Linked DNA regions of Homo sapiens: regions 1, 2, 3 and 4 are each linked to region 5. Evidence: promoter capture Hi-C in human tissues and cell types (Jung and others, 2019). All regions are on one chromosome and are shown on one strand. Each heading gives the region's core, a stretch centred on a gene start or on the middle of the fragment in contact. The rest is flanking DNA. Distances are from core to core; before and after follow the strand shown.

The links. Contacts are between HindIII fragments. The study calls those that stand out against the background at their distance.
Region 1: a contact is called between a fragment that was not itself captured here and the fragment with the promoter of ERAP2 in region 5, in 2 of the 25 tissues and cell types used here (aorta and dorsolateral prefrontal cortex).
Region 2: a contact is called between a fragment that was not itself captured here and the fragment with the promoter of ERAP2 in region 5, in 1 of the 25 tissues and cell types used here (dorsolateral prefrontal cortex).
Region 3: a fragment that was not itself captured here is called in contact with the fragment with the promoter of ERAP2 in region 5 in 1 of the 25 tissues and cell types used here (spleen).
Region 4: a contact is called between a fragment that was not itself captured here and the fragment with the promoter of ERAP2 in region 5, in 1 of the 25 tissues and cell types used here (spleen).

What each region holds. Positions count from the first base shown.
Region 1 is chr5:97,076,863-97,079,562 of GRCh38, reverse strand. All of the region lies in intron 1 of LIX1-AS1 (LIX1 and RIOK2 antisense RNA 1), which reads right to left. Among named protein-coding and RNA genes, the nearest start is that of LIX1-AS1, 4.5 kb to the right of the region's middle. The HindIII fragment of the contact is 6,816 bases long and covers 1-2,700 here.
Region 2 is chr5:97,098,549-97,101,248 of GRCh38, reverse strand. All of the region lies in intron 4 of LIX1 (limb and CNS expressed 1), which reads left to right. It overlaps LIX1-AS1 (LIX1 and RIOK2 antisense RNA 1), which reads right to left. Exons shown (of 8, transcript NR_187470.1): 5 at 2,276-2,312. Among named protein-coding and RNA genes, the nearest start is that of LIX1-AS1, 26 kb to the right of the region's middle. The HindIII fragment of the contact is 6,743 bases long and covers 1-2,700 here.
Region 3 is chr5:97,123,764-97,126,532 of GRCh38, reverse strand. It overlaps LIX1 (limb and CNS expressed 1), which reads left to right. Exons shown (of 6, transcript NM_153234.5): 2 at 1,904-2,067. Among named protein-coding and RNA genes, the nearest start is that of LIX1, 17 kb to the left of the region's middle. RefSeq lists an enhancer at 1,558-2,757. The HindIII fragment of the contact is 8,097 bases long and covers 1-2,769 here.
Region 4 is chr5:97,026,120-97,028,819 of GRCh38, reverse strand. It overlaps LNPEP (leucyl and cystinyl aminopeptidase), which reads right to left. Exons shown (of 18, transcript NM_005575.3): 16 at 2,063-2,203; 17 at 1,006-1,087; 18 at 1-418. The coding sequence ends at 287. Among named protein-coding and RNA genes, the nearest start is that of LIX1-AS1, 46 kb to the left of the region's middle. The HindIII fragment of the contact is 3,542 bases long and covers 1-2,700 here.
Region 5 is chr5:96,875,067-96,877,766 of GRCh38, reverse strand. ERAP2 (endoplasmic reticulum aminopeptidase 2) reads right to left here and starts at 1,267. Exons shown (of 19, transcript NM_022350.5): 1 at 1,240-1,267. It also overlaps a transcript of ERAP1 not described here. RefSeq lists enhancers at 369-578, 949-1,158, 1,329-1,478, 1,499-1,628. The HindIII fragment of the contact is 2,321 bases long and covers 1,039-2,700 here.

The sequences.
Region 1 (2,700 bases), core at 138-2,637, 200 kb before region 5:
TAAGCACAAACATTAAACTGCCCATTCAAATAGTGCTGAGAGTTTCTCTTTTCCTTTTATGTGCCTTCTTCCCTTGCACCATTCTATTTGGTTATGCCACTGAACATTTTTGTTTCTATTCTTTGATTCCCACCAAACCATTGTGCTGTGCTTTGAAATAATATGCTACAGATTTCCACATTCTATACCAGCCCTTGTGTCCCACACCCCTTCTCTCTATATATATCCCCTCTGCCTACCAAGAAAGGGGTGGGCACTGAACAATAAAGAAAAGGGACACAAAAAGAGAAAAGCTCACATGGTGCCCATGTGCTGGTTAAGTTCTTGTTTTGTTTTTCTCAGTGGGGTTGGCAAATGATGTCTCAAACCCATGTGTCATTAAATGAATCAGCTCCTCCACCCTCACAATAGATGCTACAGATCCCTTGACGAAATTCACTTGGTCCCACAAGAGAGCCAAGGCACACAGCTGTGCTTCCTCTCTGTCATTACAGAGGTACAGAGTTTGCAGCAAAGGTGACATTTTAAATCTGTTAGCACCAAGGAACAAAGACAACTGTGATAATTTCCTTCCCCCTCTTCTCCCCTGGTTTCCCCTGATACAAATGAGCACCGACATTCTGATTAATTAGACTTTGAGCATTTAAAACAAAATACATTTCTGTATGCAGGAAAGTTATTCCAGTTTGCCTAAGTAATTAAAAGAGAAAGCTTCAGCATTATAATACCTGAGCAGTTCAAACTGAGTAAACCCTGATACAGGAAAACCTGTCTGATGAGAAAGATTTTCTTCCTATCAGCAAAGGAAGTTTATTTCTCAGGGGCAGATTTAATTACTTTATGCAAATATCATCAGCAAACGATCCAATGCCACTATGCTCTCTGCCCAATAATCTATATCATCTCCCCTGTTTAATATCCAAATTGTTAGTATGTGTATGTGTATATTCAGTCATGTACTGCACAGTGACCTTCCAGTCAATGTCAAACTGTACATATGCCAGTGGCGTCATAAGAATATAATGGAGTTGAAAAACTTCCATCACCTATGGAAGTCATAGCCATAATAACATCGTAGCACAATGCATTACTCCCATGTTTGTGGTGATGCTGGTATAAACGAACCTACCTTATAAACTTTAAAGTAAAAAAAAGTTACAGTAAGCTGAAGTTAATTTATTATTGAAGAAAGAAAAATTTGTGTTTATAGTGTAGCCTAAGTGTACAGTGTTCATAAAGTATTCAGTAGGGTAATGTCCTAGGCCTTCACATTCACTCACTGCTCACTCACTGACTCACCCCAAGCATCTTCTAGTCCTCCATGCATGTTACGTGCCCTACACAGGTGCACCAGTTTTTATCTTTTACGCCATATTTTTACTGTACCATTTCTATGTTTACATATAGAAATACCAACCATTGTGTTACAATTGCCTATAGTATTCAGTACAGCATGCTGTACAGGTTTGTAGCCTAGGGACAATATGCTATACCACCTAGGTTTGTGTAAGTCCACTCTACGATGTTTGCAAAATGACAAAATCTCAGAATTCTCCCCTTCATTAAGCAATATATTACTGTCTCTTTTCTTTCCTTGCCAGCTCTCTCCCTCTCTCTCTCTATATATAGAAGTAGATGTAGGAGAGAATTTACCACCTGGACACTTGAAGGAATTAATTATGTTTATAAAGATGGAAATGATTATAAAAGACATATTTAGATCAAATTGAAAACAAATAATCTACTTCAGTTAACCATAGATTAATGAGGGAGGAAAGTTAAACAGCAAATATGATCAAGTAATCCTCTACAGTTGAAAACTGCAATCTCATAAAACATTAACTCAGACGGTGCTCTAATTGAATGATATAATATAAATGCTTGCTATCTTTCATCATAGTCTACTTAAATTTTTTCTTTTTCTTTTACTTCATTATTTTATTTTATTTTTTTTTTTTTGTGAGACAGGATCTTACTCTGTGGCCCAGGCTGGAGTGCAGTGATGCAATTTCGGCTTACTACAACCTCTGCCTCCCGGGCTTAGTTAATCCTCCCACCTCAGCCTCCTGAGTAGCTGGAACTACAGGCATGCACCACAACACCTGGCTAACTTTTTGTAGAGACAAGGTTTCACCATGTTGCTCAGGCTGTTCTCAAATTCCTGGGCTCAAGGGATCCACCCACCTCGGCCTTCTAAAGTGCTGGGATTATGGGCATGAGCCACTCCACCTAGCCAAATTTTCTTAATTCCACACAATTAGAAGTTCTAATGTGAATCGTTTTACATAGCCTTGGTATGCCCCTGCCCTTCTGCCCAACTAAATTGTGACATAGTCACTCTACCACTTGTTAATTGTGACAAATTTATATTCCACAATGTACATTTTAAATTGTTTAATTTCTTTTACTTGTAAAATACATTTTACCAAAAAAACCTCACCCGCATATGCTTTTATCTGGATTCCTAATTTTAAAGATATCTGCAGAGTCATTTTACACTTGTCCAGTTGTATACAGCCAAATCAGAGATGCAATAGTAGATTGTCATCAACAGTTGTAATAGTAGATTGTCATCAATAGTTTTTGAGCATAAAATCAAATTCCACTCATAAACATAGGCGAACAAATAGAGTTATCTATGGCAAATATTCTTGTAAATGTTGTTATCAGAAACTTATTCTAATCCCAAAGTTATAAGGT
Region 2 (2,700 bases), core at 195-2,694, 220 kb before region 5:
CAAGATAAATAATATTATAATGCATTATTTTTTAAACTCAAAATTCATGCCAAAAATTCACGATAAACAAAATATCAGAATTATAAATAAAAGACCATGAACATGTATAATTGGCCCCACTCACTTTAAACCTTGCCTCACCTGCCTCACCTGCCTCACCTGCCTCACCTTATGAGGCTAACTTGTTTTTCTGTTGGTGCAGCTGGGCCCCTCAGGCTTCCAGATTACCCCACAAACAAAACACCACACCCCAAAAGACTTCCGTGAGGACTATGACAGACCCTCACAGGAAAAGACAACACTAATTTCCTTTATTTAAAAAAAAATTTATATATATTCTTTTTTTTTTTTTTTTCTGAGACAGAGGTCTTACTATTTCGCCCAGGCTGGGCACAAACTCATGATCTTCCTGCCTCAGCCTCCCAAGTAGCTGGGACATTCCACAGCACCTGACTACACTAACTTCCTTTAGAGTAACAGAGCTTCTCCAGGTAGAATATGAGCCAGCGAACACCAGGCAGCAAAGAATCATGGGGAAACTAGTAAGCAGAACTCCACAGCAGCCCTCTCCTTCCCACTCTGCAATCATGCAAGGATTTCCAATGGAATCAGTCAGAGGCATGCAAAGATTTCCTGGAGTTGAGCCAAGAGCTAATAGTTTTGGGAAAATGTGAAGAGAGTGAATTTGGTCTTATGAGGGGAAATAAAGAAGTGAGACAAAAAATATGTGAAAATATTTAAATATACTTTATATAATGATGGCAAGATGAATATCTCTACAGAGGACAAAAACTAGATGGGGATATAATGTAAGAAGTTGGAAAGGAGGTCATCTTCCCTAGGGAATGTTAAGAACAAAAGCAACACTGAGGAAGTGGCAGTTGTGTTACTGGAGAGAAAAAAAAAGCTGCTTCGTGATGGGATAGAAATTTAGACAAACCAGAGGTGGTGAGGAGGTTGACCTTCATCCTGGAGACGAAAGCAGTTCAAGTCTCTTTGGGGACATTTTTGAAAGATGAAGGTTGTCAAGGGGCATGAGAAAGGGTTTTGGTTCTGTTCACAGAAGAGTTGTGAATTCTAAAGTCTTAGGAGATTTTCAGGGTGGAATGATAGTCCCTTATGGGGCGGGGAGAGCAGTTAGTGTATAGATAAGAAAAAGAGCCCAGAAGACCCCAGAGGAAGAATAGTATGTTTCTAAGTCAACAGTTATCAGAGGATGGAATTAAGAGCCCTGTTAGCAATAGGCTGTTTCTCAAACTGGGCCACAAGGATGCAAGAACAATGCCAAGATAGATAGCTATAGGAAGCCACAAAATAAATCCAGTATATGTGTCTGAGTTCTCAACTTTACATAAAGATTTAGGGTTGTGGGGGTCAAACGGAGGAGTGGAGTGATATTTATTTTCTTTTTTGTGATGGAGTCTCACTCACTTGCCGAGGCTGGAGTGTGGTATCGCGATCGCAGCTGACTGTACTCTCCGCCTCCCAGGTTCAAACAATTTTCCTGCCTCAGCCTCCCGAGTAGCTGGGATTACAGGTACCCACCACCACACCTGGCTAATTTTTTTATTTTTAGTAGAAACAGGTTTTCACCATTTTGCCCAGGCTGGTCTCCATCTCCTGACCTCAAGTGATCCACCTGCCGCAGCCTCCCAAGTGCTGGGATTATAGGCACAAGCCACCACACCTGGCCAATATTTATTTTCTCTTTTCTAAAAATGGACATACACAATAGAATGCAAAATTTGAGTGGATCTTTATAAGACATAAAACCAAAAAATTTTTCTTATTTACAAATATTGGCCCTCCTGTTACATCATAGAGACTGGTTCCCAAATATTAAAACAATCTTCCCATTCATTTTTATGGCTTCAAAGTATTCGGTGAGTTGGTTTGTTAGTATGGTAGGAAGGGCAACACAAATTTGCCCTTCTCAGCCACTGGGGCCACTTTGATGGAAAGCCTGAGAGGAACAGCAGTGACAGCCAGATTGGACGAGATTTGGTTTCTCGAACAAAGCACTCCCACTTTTTCAAATTAGCATACTGACGTGATGAAGTGAAAGTCTGAACAAGGGCAGGAAGATGTGGAGGAGAGGGGCCAGGAGGGGACAGCCATCCCTGGGCACTGGACCGAGGACCCTGTGCAGACAGGGAGGTCTCCATCTGGGGGCGGGCAGAAGGAGCAGCTCAGCTGGTATTCATGTGTGTTTTAATTAGCAGACACAAGTGGTTTTGCTTTTACTGAGGTGTCTGTGGGCTCTCAGAGTACTTACTGTGCAGTGAACTTAGACAGAATGCCAAACTGGATCTCTGACAGAAAAGAAGAAAAACATTTCATTCCAATGGCAATTTTAGACATGAGAGAAGTGCTATTTGCTCTTCTAATAATCTGATAGCTTTAAAATTTACCAAATAATTTTAAGATGCCTAAAACCTGACTATGAGTCTCCTGATTTTCATAAGAGAACCTCTTCCCAAGCAAGCAGATGTAAAGACAGTTAATTGAAGTCAGCTTTTTTGTTTTGTTTTAAGAGATAAAATATTATGTTGCCCAGACTGGTCTCAAACTCTTGGGCTCAATCAATTCTCCTGCCTCAGCCTCCCAAGTTGCTAGAACTATAGGCACACACCACCGTGCCCAGCTAAAAGCTTTTTTGAATGGACAGTAGGACATCTGTCTATGTTAAGTTTTCATAAC
Region 3 (2,769 bases), core at 136-2,635, 250 kb before region 5:
TCCCCTCACTACTTTTAACATTTTCCCAATTTCTTTCCCAAATCACTTCTTAAATTACTAAACACTGCAGTTTTTAAATATACATGGCAACCAGTTCCTTAGGAGTTGCCAGAATTTGCCTGAACTATACACCATGAAGCTGATCAGTGACCTACAGAGGAGGTGCAGACACCTAGTGCTCTAGTAAACATTTAGAAAGTGGCTATACAATGATTTTGCCTCCAGATCACACTCTGAGATACTCCAGACTCACTGAAAAATGTCACTGTCCAGAATTTTAAAGCAGATCCAAGAATATATTCAGGATAATGGCAAAGGGCATAGATGCCGTGTTACACAAAGCATGTTTGAAAGAGCAAAAACTATTTAATCTAGAACTTGAAAAAACATGAGTGTTGACTGTTTAGTGTACTTTTCATATGCATGTGAGAGATGCCACCTGAAAATGGCTTAAGGAAAAAGCAGGTGGGTTGGTTAGATAACTTCAAGTCCAATCAAGGATCCTGGATTATGGGCATAGCTGAAACCAGGAGCTCAAACTATGTTGTCAAAACTTAGCCCTCCTCCATCTCTTTACTGAACCGTTCTCTGGGCTTTCTTCTCAGCCAGATTTTCTTCTTGCTTGGGCAGCACCATGCTTACCTCCTACGGCTCCAGAAACCCCACTGAAAACAGGAAACTTTCAACATTTTCAACACATTCATTGTCCCTAAATGGCTTGGCTATGGCCAAATTCCCACCTGCACCCCTCGAGACCACATGATTGTTCAAGGAAAATCTTGGTGCTGTTTCCACAAGCAGGGAAGTGAATGCCAGGCAAGCAAAACAACAGATGTCTTATACTGCTTTTAAACCTGTGGTGGGCTCCCATGTGGATAAGGAAATAAACTTTTTGAGGCCTCAGAAATGAGAAGTAGACCCTCTGCATGAACCTTACAGGAAAGCAGATTTCAGTTCACTCCTACAAGGACCTTTTCACAGAACCATTAGCAGTTGAAATAGGCTGCCTCAGGTTGTGGCAAGTACTAGGTCCTTCCACATGTTCAGGTACAGGCCAGATGAGCAGCTGTCAGGAATGCTGGCGAGGAATTCCTGCATTAGGCAGGGCTTTGCCTACATGACCTATAAGGTCACTTTTGACTCTACAATTCTATTATCCTTGTTAATTTCTACAATTTAATTTGCAGTACAGGATAAACAAACCAATCTAATTTGATCTGGAACTTCTGCAGGCTATCACAGGTCATTTAATCTAAAACATATGGCTCTAGCCATTACTATGTTTTCTGAAATACTCGAACAGACCTTGTTCTTAACAAGGTCTTCATGTTATTAGTTTCACTCATGGATTTTTCCAGCCTCCTGCTTATTCTACAACTGCCTTTCATTCTCGTTTAGACTGGGGTGGAAGGAGCATGAAAGAGTTCCCTTCTTTCTGACTTTCTCTTCTTAAATCTTTGCAGGCTTAAGAATCTATGAGAAATGAGAAAGAGGACCACAGATAATCACAGCTCTGGATAAAGTCTATTAAGACAAATGTTCAAAGCAGAATGAGATTTTTAATTTTTATATTAAAAATTAATTTATAGAGTAAATTTGAAATACTGCTATATTGTTTTAATTAGGGTACCAAAACCACTTCTTGAGCCTTACTCATTAAGAAATATACACATTTGCATTTGTAAATAACAGGTTCAATTTGTATATTTTAACATACTTTAAATATATTTAAATAAAGTATATTCTTTCACAGCTAAAAGCCCCTCCACCCCACTATCCACATACCCAGCTCTACTTAAACTGGAACTGTCATGCTACAGAATCCAGCTTGCAAATAAAATTTTGGTTTTGCACCAGATTATGTCCATCCTTAATAACTGATGGTGTTTCTTGTCTTTTTCAGTGAACGTTGTGTCAATGTTACAGGAATTTTGGGAAAGCAAGCAGCAGCAGAAGGCTGCATTCCCAAGTGAAGGTGTGGTGGTCTATGAGTCACTGCCAGCTCCTGGGCCTCCCTTTGTGAGTTACGTGACCCTCCCAGGGGGAAGCTGTTTTGGCAACTTTCAGGTAAGAAGTAGCCATTAATTTGTCAGTGAAAGTTCATTGGGCTAAAATAAAGTAAACCTTTTTGTAAACTGGTAACATTACAAATTTTCTTGGAAATAGTGAACAAAGTTGTACCATATCCTATGAATGAAAACAACCAGAAAGGAATTAAATTTGCCAATATCCTTTATAAATACCCTTTTAATTGAGTAAATTATCCCTCAATTTTCAATAACTGGCAAAGATGTTTTATTTCTTGCTTATGGATACCGTGAAACTCATAAGCAATCAAGTTTCTTAGTTTGTCAACTAAAAAGCCCAAGGCAAATTTTCAGGTCATTTTTTTGTAGTGTAAGTCTACAGAACTTAATATCATATAATTTTTAAGACTAACGTCATACCTGATACTATTTATATTTTAACCTTTACTCTCCCTTTGAACTTATGAAGTCACTCATTTATTGTATCCTGTTACCAGGTGTATCTGTTTTACATGGTTTCAAATCCTTCACTGAGTGAGGGAAGGGTATAATTTAATAAACAGACCTACAAACCTATGCTGCCTCTGGGAAGTCAAAGAAGGATTCACAAGAAATATAAATGTGAACTGAGGCATTCAGTTGATGATGTCTTGGCCAATGGGAAAGGGAAAAAATGACACTCTTAGCATAGGGAACCACAGCATTTTCAGAATTAGGGAAGCATAAGGGTTAATGTGTGGCA
Region 4 (2,700 bases), core at 89-2,588, 150 kb before region 5:
TTTTGTCCCCATCTGTGTATCTTCAAAGTAGAAAAATTACTCATTGTTTTTGTAGATGGTTGGCATTTAGGTGAATATAATTTTGTAATAAATAACTACATACTGCCCAAAGACACTTCAGAAAAGATGGATGAAAAATACAGTCAGGCCCTGAGCTAACTAGAACTCCAAAGAGTGCAAACAACTTGGCAGCGATCCTGGCTTTACCTTGGCTTTTGCAAAAGCGGCAGAGCCCAAGCTTACAAGCTCTCTGAATGGGCAACAAAATGAGGTGCGGTTGTGCATGCTACAGCCACCATGTGAGACTTTTGAGGTTCTTCTCCATCCACTGGATATTCAACTGAATGACTTCCAAAGCCTCCTGGACACAACGAAGCCGGAAGGTTGCCTCTGACTGATTTTCAAAGAATGCCTGAACCTGTAAGTTTCACACAGAAGAATTTCAAAAGAAGAAAAGGACGATAAACCTCAGGTAACCCCAGCTTTTAAAATAAGCTTTAACTTAGTGATGGCTGTGCTGCTATCTTGAAAGCAGTAGAAAGAAGTACTTTAATATTCAAGGTATCTACATGGAGTTCCCAATCAAGTATGGTGATATCTGAAATGATTTTAAAAAGGAAATCTTTTTACTCCCACACAGATACATTTTTCTAACTTAAAATGGAACCAAGGAGATGTTTAAGTAACAATAAATAAAGTAGAGTCCAAAGGCTTGGTGCTATGAATTCACCCCAAGAATGCAATTCTTCCAAACAATTTTATGACCACTTAAATTATTTGTATTAGGGAGACAAGGGAAGAGAATGGAATCAGATTTTTTCCTCATTATCATATATGCCACCCTCTAGAAGTAATCACAATGCAGAATCATTAGTACTGATAAAGGAAGACAGAGATAAGAGAAGGAATTAGCATGAAAATCCACCATCTCACTAAAACTGAGCAGCCTGGTCCGGGTGTGCGGAGGGTTGCCCAGTCTCTGTATTATCATTTTATAAAACCAACCTCAGATAAATGTGTCTTTGTTGAAAACAGGTAAGTTGATCCAGCAACAATATTTTGTATGGTATAGGACCCCAGAGGGAACCTGAAGAAACACAAAAACAAGAGCAAAAAGATTAGGCAGCTGCTGGTAAAGCGTTGTTCCTGAGTGCAAGGAAAAGTCTTTAATGCCAAAGCCAGAGTGGAATCCTCCTCCCGGAACTGCAACTGAGGAAACCGGGGTAGCCCTATGCATACTTATTGTCGGTGGGAAGGAAAGGTGGGCAGAAAAAGGGAAGAGTTCAGAACATGCAGACAATTAATCCGCTTAACATTGTCGAAGATCACACTGTACACCCAGAAATGCCATTATTGATTTAAAAGAGAGAAAGAAGCAAAAAACCTACATCTGCATCTAGCTGAATGTGAGTTCTTAACTGATGCCTTGGCAATGCAGAGGTATTTTCCTTTTTGTTTTTTTTTTTTGAGACGGAGTCTCGCCCTGTTGCCTAGGCTGGAGTGCAGTGGCACAATCTCGGCTCACTGCAAGTTCTGCCTCCCAGATTCACACCATTCTCTTGCCTCAGCCTCCCAAGTAGCTGGGACTACAGGCACCCGCCACCATGCCCGGCTAATTTTTGGTATTTTTAGTGGAAATGGGGTTTCACCGTGTTAGCCAGGATGGTCTCGATCTCCTGACCTCGTGATCCGCCCATCTCGGCCTCCCAAAGTGCTGGGATTAAAGGTGTGAGCCACCGCGCCCGGCCATACAGAGGTATTTTTCAATATGCATAGCTAAATGGTTGCTATGAAATAGTCTGTAGCCACGCTGAGCTAAGTAACCTGGTGCCAAGCAAGGCTAGGCTTAATTAGAACTTAGATGGAATGCTACTGTTAAATGATTCATGCTATGGAATTATGTTAACAAATGTGAAAATTTCCGGATGTTTCAGTTAAACTGTCATGGAAGTATTTTTCCTCTCACAGCAAATCCTAACTTCTGTGAGCCAAAACACTGGGAGCTTTTTTCAAATGCACAACTTGAGAATACTAAAAGTTAATAATTCTCTGAGAAACTTACTTCTGTACAAGCTTATTCCAGTTCTCTTTGACAAAATCCCATGCCAGTAAGTGTCCAGGAAAATGTCGACCCACTGTTCTAATGATAAAAGACAGCTTCTGTGTTCGGAAGTTATCTCCATTCAGGCTACTTTTCATTAACCTGAAGAGCAAAGCAGATTTAGCCTCCAAAATTATTATTCATGAAGAAGTGATGACTGAACTTAAATTAAAATTAGTATGGTTTCCTAATTAAAGCTGTGTAGCAAATTGAGAAATAACTGTTGCATTAGTCTACGGTTGATCTATAGATTGAAAATGTCATTTTTTTTAAATGAAGAAAGAACTCACCAATAAAATAGGCATTTACCTATATTGTCACATGACAATAAATAGTTTTTAAATAGTAAAAACATTTAGGAAATAAGTTCTGGTAGAATTTATTACAATTCGGGAGGTGGGTATTTTTTTCTGGTAAAAACCTTATTTGATTTGAATGGGCAGGTTAATTATATTACTATTCTTAAAAAAAACTAGGTCATTTGAATTATTTGAAAATTAGGATACATTTCAGAATATACTCTTATTAATGTTCGTAGCAAACATTTACTGACACTATGTACTAAATAATGTTCTAAGTCCTTGACACAACAATGCTAT
Region 5 (2,700 bases), core at 18-2,517:
TCTATTAGCTTGAATTTTGGAGGGTTTAAAAAAAATGGAGTGGCTTATTATGTGGGTCTGAGGCTTTGGAATCAGAGTGCCCAGATTCCAACGCTAATTCCACCAACCTCACCTACGTGATCATGGGCAAAGTTTTTTACTTTTTGAGCTTCATTTATCTCAACCATAAAACAGTGTAATAATTATACCTTCCTCATGCTGGGATGATTAAATGAAATAATTCATGTGAAGAAGTTGGCACAGCACAGCATGGAGCATATAGGAAGTAAGTAATTAGTGTTGGATATGAAATTATTATTGAGGTTATAACTTGCATTCAATGGCCAAAATGAAGGAGTAGCTCGCCCCCACTTGTAGCAGACACTCCTAGAGATGTACTTGATTGATAAGAGTAGAGAGAAAAGCTTTACTCACACAGTCTTTAACTTTAGAACTAGTAAGGGTTGTAAAGGCCAGCTAGTACAAGTCCTTAGTGTTCAGATAAAGAAACAGGACCGGGCACAGTGACTCAGGTCTGTAATGCCAGCATTTTGGGAGGCCAAGGTGGGCAGATCACCTGAGGTCAGGAATTCGAGACCAGCCTCACCAACATGGTGAAACCCTACCTCTACTAAAAATACAAAAATTAGCCGGGCATGGTGGCACATGCCCGTAGTCCTAGCTACTCGGGAGGCTGAGGCACGAGAATCGCTTGAACCAGGGAGGTGGAAGTTGCAGTGAGCCGAGATCGTGCTGCTGCACTCCAGCCTGGGCGACAGAGCGAGGCTCTCTCTCAAAATAAATAAATAAATAAATACATAAATTAAATTAAATAAACAGATGAAGGAACAGGATGGTGACTTCTCAAAATCCACACAGGAAGTCTGAAACAGAATCAGGACTAAAACATAGCTCTTTGCCCTTTGGTCTGGTGGGCTTTCTATTATACTGCACTGTACCTTAAATAGCAATGCAGTGAACAAAACATCCTGGGATTGAAGAGGCAAGAATTGTCACAAACGCTTAGAAAAGACAAAAAGATCTCTGAAAGAGAGTCAGTGCAGCAGCGTCTTAGATCAAGTCCCAGCCTCAACTGCATACACTTTCTAATACAGCCGCGCCCAATTCACCCCAGTCCCCCAGAACCTTGCCTTAGATTACAAAACCTTCTCAACACAGCAGTTCTATACCTTCAGTTCATTATTCTTATTGAAAAAATCTAATTTTAAGACAAACCCAAGAGAAATGTTGATACGTTACCTTAAATCATGCTGCTGCAGATTTGACTGAAGGGGAATTTACTTTTGCTTTCACTTTCTGTTCTAAGATTCAGAACTTTGCATGCTTCCTGAGTACAGTAAGTACTAGCTGGTTCATTATCACGCAGGTGTGAATGGAGCTTAGGATAAGAGCTTTATTTCAAAAAGGACAAGAAACTTTTTGTAGAATGCACAAATAAGTGGCTTTGGAGTAGAAGCCAAACCATGGAAAGAAAGGATCGCCAGTGGCTGCCACTTCTGCTGTTATCACCTCCCTTCCCTTGTCCCCAGGGTAAAGCCTTCAGAACATAGTTTATGTTTTTTAGTGCCAAGTTGTTGTCTTAGGAATTGATCTTGAACTTCTCCTTGTGCTGCATCCTCAGTGCTATGAAATCTGACTTCTGCCCATCCACCCCACAAACGTAACTCCAAGCTTACCAAACACCTCCCGGGCAGCTTCTGTGATCTTTATCAGAGGTGATTATTCTCAGATTTTCCATGTCTGTAACCACCCTGTCTCCTTGGGCACGAGGGGACTGTATCTCATGCTCATCTCTTTGATCTCTCTTTATCTGCCTGTTTGAGTTGGGCTTCAACTTCCTCTCTGCTCTGAATACAGACCTTCCACAAAGATGAAACCTCTGGCCTTTGCTCTGCCCTCTCTTTATCCTTTCCAGTACCCAGATTTAGCATTTATCCCCATTCATCCCACATTGCTCCCATTGTGATCCCTCCTTCAAGGGTTCTGCTGCTGTAATTCCAACAGCCTGATGGACCAACAGTACATGGATGTCTAACCCTAACCTGAACCAGAACCCTGACAACTCAAATAGTGTTTTCTTTCCCCAGATAAACACCCTTTGCTTTATATGCTTCCAGCCTTCTTCCATTATCTAGGATTGAACCATATAGTTAGTTACTTTGATTCTGTCCCTCTCCAATTTGTTACCAAAGCCTGTTGATTTTTCCTTTTCTTTTCTTTTTTTTTTTTTTGAGATAGGGTCTCACTCTGTCACCCAGGTTGGAGTGCAGTGGTGCCATCCCAGCTCACTGCAGCCTTGACTTCCTGAGCTCAAATGATCCTCCCACCTCAGCCTCCCAAGTAGCTGGGGCTACAGGCATCCACCACTACACCCAGCTAATTTATTATTTTTTTTTTATAGATGAGGTCTTCCCATGTTGCTCAGGCTGGTCTCAAACTCCTAGGCTCAAGTGATCCTTCTGCCTCAGCCTCCCAAAGGATTGGGATTACAGGCATGAGACACCGCAACTGGCCTTTTTGAATCATTTTCAATCTCTTTCTATCCAACTAAGAAAAAATCCCACCGCTTATTAAAGTAGTCCAGGTCCTCATCCTTCCTCACAATGGCCTTCAATCATGTCTTCCCAGCTTCTCAAGCTCAGCTTCTTGCAGTTACTTGTACGATGCCACCAGATTAATCCTTTCAACTACTGCTCGACC